2 separate regions of the Homo sapiens genome follow, and region 2 is linked to region 1. Evidence: promoter capture Hi-C in human tissues and cell types (Jung and others, 2019). All regions are on one chromosome and are shown on one strand. Each heading gives the region's core, a stretch centred on a gene start or on the middle of the fragment in contact. The rest is flanking DNA. Distances are from core to core; before and after follow the strand shown. Region 1 holds the start of AUNIP (aurora kinase A and ninein interacting protein). Region 2 holds the start of ZNF683 (zinc finger protein 683).

Evidence for each region. Contacts are between HindIII fragments. The study calls those that stand out against the background at their distance.
Region 2: the fragment with the promoter of ZNF683 here is called in contact with the fragment with the promoter of AUNIP in region 1 in 1 of the 25 tissues and cell types used here (adrenal gland).

What each region holds. Positions count from the first base shown.
Region 1 is chr1:25,857,824-25,861,119 of GRCh38, forward strand. It overlaps AUNIP (aurora kinase A and ninein interacting protein), which reads right to left and starts at 1,634. Exons shown (of 3, transcript NM_024037.3): 1 at 1,457-1,634. The coding sequence starts at 1,534. RefSeq lists enhancers at 1,289-1,914, 1,812-2,041, 1,915-2,540 and silencers at 1,532-1,791, 2,392-2,451. The HindIII fragment of the contact is 14,334 bases long and covers 1-3,296 here.
Region 2 is chr1:26,371,126-26,374,421 of GRCh38, forward strand. ZNF683 (zinc finger protein 683) reads right to left here and starts at 1,625. Exons shown (of 6, transcript NM_001114759.3): 1 at 1,544-1,625. The HindIII fragment of the contact is 13,714 bases long and covers 1-3,296 here.

The sequences.
Region 1 (3,296 bases), core at 384-2,883:
CTGCACTCCAGCACGAGCAACAAGAGTGAAACTCCATCTCAAAAATAACAATAATAATAATATGCCGGGCGCAGTGGCTCACGCCTGTAATCCCAGCACTCTGGGAGGCTGAGGCGGGCAGATCACGAGGTCAGGAGAGCGAGACCATCCTGGCTAACACGGTGAAAACCTGTCTCTACTAAAAATACAAAAAATTAGCCGGGCGTGGTGGTGGCCGCCTGTAGTCCCAGCTACTCAGGAGGCTGAGGCAGGAGAATGGCGTGAACCCCGGAGGTGGGGCTTGCAGGGAACTGAGATTGTGTCACTGCACTCCAGCCTGGGCGACAGAGCAAGACTCCATCTCAAAAAATAATAATAATAAATAATAATAATAAAATGATCAAATTTCTTATCTATAAAACCAGGATAATGACAAAATCTACTTTACTGAATTTTGGTGAGTACCTGCCATTGATAAAGTGTATAAAGTCTCGGCAAAATGCCTGACACATAGAAAGCACTCAATAAAGGTTAGGTATTGTTGTTATTATTTATACACCTCTTTTCTTCCCTATAAGACTGTGAGCAACCTGAGAGCAAGAATCTTGCCCCTAGTGTCTGTTTTGAGCCTGTTTTCCGTATGTAAAATGGGTATCATTACACTATCTACCATATAGAATTGTACCAAACAAGGTAACATACCTAAAACACTTAGCACCAGCATAAAATGCTCAATAAACATGAATGATTATTATGTCGCACTTTTGTTTCTTTACAGTGACTGAAGAGCATCTTGCCTAGGTGACAGACCTGAATGTGATTTCCAGCTCCTTCTAGTTAGGCGGGCCTAGGTTAGTTACTGAACCTCAGTTTCCTCATTCCCAGCAAGAATGACGACACATATAACGCATATTCAGTATCTAATGCAGTATCCGGCACCCAGTGACTGCTCAGTACATAGGAGGCCAGCTCCCCTTCCCATAGCTTCTACTTTTCCCCTCAAAGTTACCGGTTCTGGGCAGGTAGTTGGCCTGCAACTTGGCAAATTGGGTGGAAACAGACCCCGGGGTGAGAATTTCCCCAATTTGCATTCGCATCCATCTCCCAATGCTCCAGCCTCTACTAGGACGTCTCGCAGGGACTGTGGCCTCCTAGGGAGCCTGGTCAGTTCAACTGCTCCGAGCGAACTTTCCCTCCGCCTCTCCCACACCTGAACCTTCGCCGCCCCTCCCTGCGCACCGCTCCTCCAGACCCCCCAACAGCACGCTCTTTCCTTCCGTCCCTCCCATCCTCCCCAAGCCCCGTTTTTCAACCTTCTTCAGACCACAATCCCTCTCGCCTGTGAATCCCCAACGCTGTTCCCTTCTCTGTCCCCGACTTCGCTTTCATCATCTCCAGGTGTCCCCCAAACTCCTCCCGTCTTACGCCTCCAGGCCCTACCTGGTTCCCAACGCCCTCTCATCCCCCAGCGTCCCACCTGCACTTTCCGCCTCTTCAGCGCCGCCGCGTCCAGCCACACGCCGCAGGCCTCCTCCTCGGGGCCTGTCCGCCTCATGGCCGCTGAGGAGACGAAGCCGGCAGGACGCCGGCGCAGGCTCCCGGCGCCTCAGGGAACGCCAGAACCGCGGCCGCCGACGTTCGGATCTCGCGCCAACGCTGGGGGCGGGGCTACGTCGCGACCGCCCCGGGCGCCAGCCCCGCCCCGGCAAGGCCCTGGCCCCCTTCGCTGTGCCCCGCCCACGCACTAACTTTCGCGGCCGGTCCCTTGAGTGCGTGCGGCATATTTCCCTGCGCGGAGGAGTGCGTGTTCTTTCTGATCCGCTCTTTCAAGAGCGGATTCGGAAGCTGCTGTGTGAACGGTTCTCGACAGCCTCAGAAATGTACATTTTCTTTTTGCTGTATTGAAAATTTCTTACAGTATTTCCCGGGCTTAGGAATTTGTTCGTGTCATCGCTGAATCTTCGCGATCACCCCCAGAAGGAAGTGGCTGAGCCGAGATCAGGCCCGTCGACTCCAGACCAGGGGTCCTCGACCTAAGTGGTTACCAGACACTCGAGTGTGCGAACAACTTTGGTAATTTTTTTTTTTTAATGTAAGCGTAACTACGAAGCCACATGGGAGAGGATTTTGAAGAGGTTAAAATTTGGGGTCAGGAACTAGATTTCAGTCCTGCTTTCACCGTTTACTGTGCCTTGGATTTTAAAGAGGATCAAATGAGGTTGTGAAAGTACTTTGTGAATTCAGAAAACCCCTTGGAAATGCAAAAATGTTGGCACCCCCACCCATCCTTCCGTCCCTAACCACAATCTCCATAGATGGAATATATGTACATTATACGTAATGTTTACATATTGTATATGTAAAAAAAATTTTTTTTTGAGACGGAGTCTCACTGTCGCCCAGGCTGGAGTGCAGTGGCGCTATCTCGGCTCACTGCAGCCCCGCCTCCTGGGTTCAAGCGGTTCTTCTGTCTCAGCCTCCCTAGTAGCTGGAAGTACAGGCGCACGCCACCACACCCAGCTAATTTTTGTATTTTTAGTAGAGACGGGGTTTCACCATTGGCCAGGCTGGTCTCGAACTCCTGACCTCGTGATACGCCTGCCTCAGCCTCCCAAAGTGCTGGGATTACAGGCATGAGCCACCGCGCCCGGCCAAAAATTTTGTAATTTTTTTTTTTTGGTGGAGGGAGGATAGAAGCTCAGCCACCTCTTGCCCAGTCTGCAGCAGGTCAGCCAGGAACCTCAACCATCTCTGCAGCCAGAGCCTGTCTTCATGGTGGACAGAGCCATCTCGCTTTGTCACCCAGGCTCGGGTACAGTGGCACAGTCTCAGCTCACTGCAGCCTCAACCTCTTGGGCTCAAGCGATCCTGCCACCTCAGCCTCCCAAGTAGCTGGGACTACAGGTGTGTGCCACCACGCCTGGCTAATTTTTGTATTTTTAGTAGAGATGGGTTTTCGCCATGTTGGCCAGACTGGTCTCAACTTCCTGCCCTCAGGTGATATGCCTGCCTCAGCCTCCCAAAGTGCTGGGATTACAAGCGTGAGTCACCATGCCTGGCCTATATCAAAATATTTATTTATATACACATATTTTATGTGTGTGTGTGTGTGTGTGTGTGTGTGTGTGTGTGTGTGTATTTCATAAGGTCCCCCATGATATTTCAGCAGTGAAGTGATATTTCTAATTAATTTGGGTTTTCTTATCTTCCCAATTTTCCTTCATTGTATATATATTGCTGTGTACTATGGAAAAAGCAATATTATAAAAGTTAACATACTTCTTCGGTGCGCATGCGACGAGGCTCAATATGTGTGG
Region 2 (3,296 bases), core at 375-2,874, 510 kb after region 1:
GAACAGGCAGAGACAAGAACAGGCAACATAGAAGGATATGGAATGAGACAGAGGACAGAGAAGGCAGCTGATCTCACAGAGATACAGCAAACACGTTTTCCTCCTCCAAGTCCCATCTCAGATCTCCTGACCCTGGAAAGTTCTATCCTCTAATCTAGAGGCCCCAAGAGGCAAAAGATAATTCAAGCACATGGCCAGGTGAAGTGGCTCACATCTGTAATCCCAGCACTTCAGGAGACCAAGGCAGACCCATCTCTTGAGCCCAGGAGTTTGAGATCAGCCTGGGCAACAAAGCAAGACCTCATCTCTACAAAAAATACAAAACTTAGCTGGGCATGGTGACTTGCACCTCTGGTCCCAGCTACTCAGGAGGCTGAGGCAGGAGGATCACTTGAGCCCAGGAATATAAGGCTGCAGTGAACTAGGATATTGCCACTGCACTCTAGCCTGGGTGACAGAGAAAGACCCTGTCTCTTTAAAAAAAAAAAAAATAGACATAGCAAAATGGGTGTAAGGCATGACTAGGCCAGGTGTGGTGGCTCACATCTGTAATCCCAGCACTTTGGGAGGCTGAGGTGGGCCAACTGCTTGAGCCCAGGAGTTCAAGACCAGCATGAGCAACATGGTGAAACACCATCTCTACAAAAAATACAAAAATTAGCCAGGCATGGTAGCGCATGCCTGTTGTTCCAGCTACTCAGGAGGCTGAGGTGGGAGGATCACTTGAGCCAGGGAGGTCGAGACTGCAGTGAGCTGAGATCATGCCACTGCACTCCAGCCTGGGTGACAGAGCGAGACCCTGTCTTAAAAAAAGTTAATAAATAAGGAAAAGACATGTCTAGATACAAAAAGGGAGACCTCATAGGCCAGAAAGTGGCTTTTTAGCCTGAGCAATGTCATTATTCTTGTGAGCATGAGAAGAGGCATCACCCCTGCGGCCTTACACAAATTCTGGTGTGCGTGAGTCTGGCCCAGGGTGCAAAAGCCCCAACCAGCCATCAATCTGCACCCCAGCCACGCCACCCTGGTGTCCCAGAATATACAGGGACATCTCAGGCTGTGCACCATGGGCTGGGGCATGTTCCTGGGGTTTCTCTGCCAGCTCAGCCCCTAGGGCTGTGACTCATCCTCCACATAACTGATCCCAACATGTTTGTGAGCATCTCAAGGACAGGGTCCTCTGTCTACTCATTTTGGTTTTCCATGTAGACATCTGTCAGGTTTTTTTGGACGCCCAGCCTCTGAAACTTTTCCCCTACATGAGTCTTGAGGGAGGCAAAAGGTACCTCCCATTATAAAAGCCGAAATGGCCAAATACTTAATTCCAACCTCCCTCACCAGCACTTCATGCAGGCATACATGGACTAGGTCGATCAGATGTCCCCACCCAGAAGGGGTGACCCGCACACCTTTGGCTTCCATCTGCCAGCTCTGCCCTCTCCTGGCATCACACTCTGCTCCCAACTCTCAGAACACCTTGCACAACTTCTCTGTTAGAAAAAAATAAAAACTACTTCCCCTCTATCCGCACTTCCCAACCTACTCTGGTGATCATGGGCTTTCCTTGGCTTGGGTCTCTGGTCTGGGTCAAGGCATCTGCTCAGGTTCCTCAGTTAGAAGACCATGGTCCTCCCTTTGTGCTACCTCCCCAGGGCATGTGGGACAAAGTGACATCACATTTAGGCCTGTGACATCACAGGGCATGGAGGCTGACAAGACAGATGATCTGGGAGACGAGAGCAAGGAAGGGCTTGGCAGGCAGAGGCTGCTCCATGTGGGAACCTGAGGGAGTCTGTCTTAGCCCACCTCCTGGGACATTTCCTTGCCAAGCCGAGTCTTGTGAGCATGAGAAGAGGCATAACCCCTGTGGCCTCACACAAATTCTGGTGTGCGTGAGTCTGGCCCAGGGTACAAAAGCCCCAAGCAGCCATTAATCTCCACTGCAGCCCAGTAGACTAGCAGATCAGAAGCTAGTGCCACTGGCTGAGCGCAGTGGCTCACGCCTGTAATCCCAGGACTTTGGGAGGCCGAGGCGGGCAGATCACTTGAGGTCAGGAGTTCAAGACCAGCCTGGCCAACATGGTGGGACCCCATCTCTACAAAAATACAAAAATTAGCCAAGTGTGGTGGCACGTGCCTGTATTTCCAGCTACTTGGGAGACTGAGGCAGGAGAATTGCTTGAACCCGGGAGGCGGAGGTTGCAGTGAGCTGAGATGGCTCTGCTACACTCCAGGCTGGGCAACAGAGTGAGGCTCCATCTCAAAATAAAATAAAATACAATAAAAAAAGCCACTGGTCCTGAGGTGGCAGGTCTGTGGAAACTCCTCTCTACAACAAAGGCTGTGGTACCACATCCGGCTTCCAGGGCAGTGAAGGAAAGAAGGGGGTTCAGGGGAGGCTGCAGAATCTGTGCAGGGCTGGTCCTGGGGTGTGATATTTGGCCATGGTCCTGTCTACTTCCAGCCTCCCTTGATCCATCCTATTCTCCAAGCCTTGCTCTCCAGCCTTCTCAGACCTCCTGCGAGCTTTTCTAACATCTTTTAAACAAATTCCTTCTGCTTAACTCCTCCTGAAATGGTTTTTGTAGCTTACAACTGATAATTCTGCATTATACATGCCCAGAATAGAAGATAAAGTAACAGGGTTCCAGCTGGAATTGTCCAAGGAACAGAGTAAATAGCCACCTTTACAAACAGCTTTCTTGCTGTGTCTGGCACTGTGCTAGGGGCTTCATAAACTTTATCTCATTTAGTCTTCACAATAAGCCTGTGTGGTGGATTTTATTATTAGCAGCTCATCCAGAGTCACACAACAAGTAGCCAAGAGCTCTTTAGTGGTAAACCTCAGACTCTGCCATCTCTTGGCCATGTCAGCTTCCCCCACTACGACAGCCACCCCCTCATTTCTTTCTTTCTTGCTCTCTCTTCCCACATGCTGTTCCCAGTCCTTCCCCCAACTCCTCAGTGGCCCCCTCAGTATCCTTCAGCGTAATGGAGGGGCTTAGTTCACCAAAACTCTACTCCCTAAAAGGAAGAGCCCTCTCAGACCCCCAGGCCACAAGCCCGCCTCCCCTGCTGTCTTGCTGGGAATCACAGGGAAGTGAGGGGCACCGAGTGAAGTTTCCTCCCCTCCAAGGCACTTCCCCACACACCTTTGGCTTCCATCTGCCAGCTGTGCTCCCTCCTGGCATCACACTCTGCTCCCAGCTCTCAGAACACTTTGCACAACCTCTCTGTTAGAAAAAAATAAAAAAGGAAATGGCCTTGGAGATTTCCAGGTCTCCAATCCTGAAAGC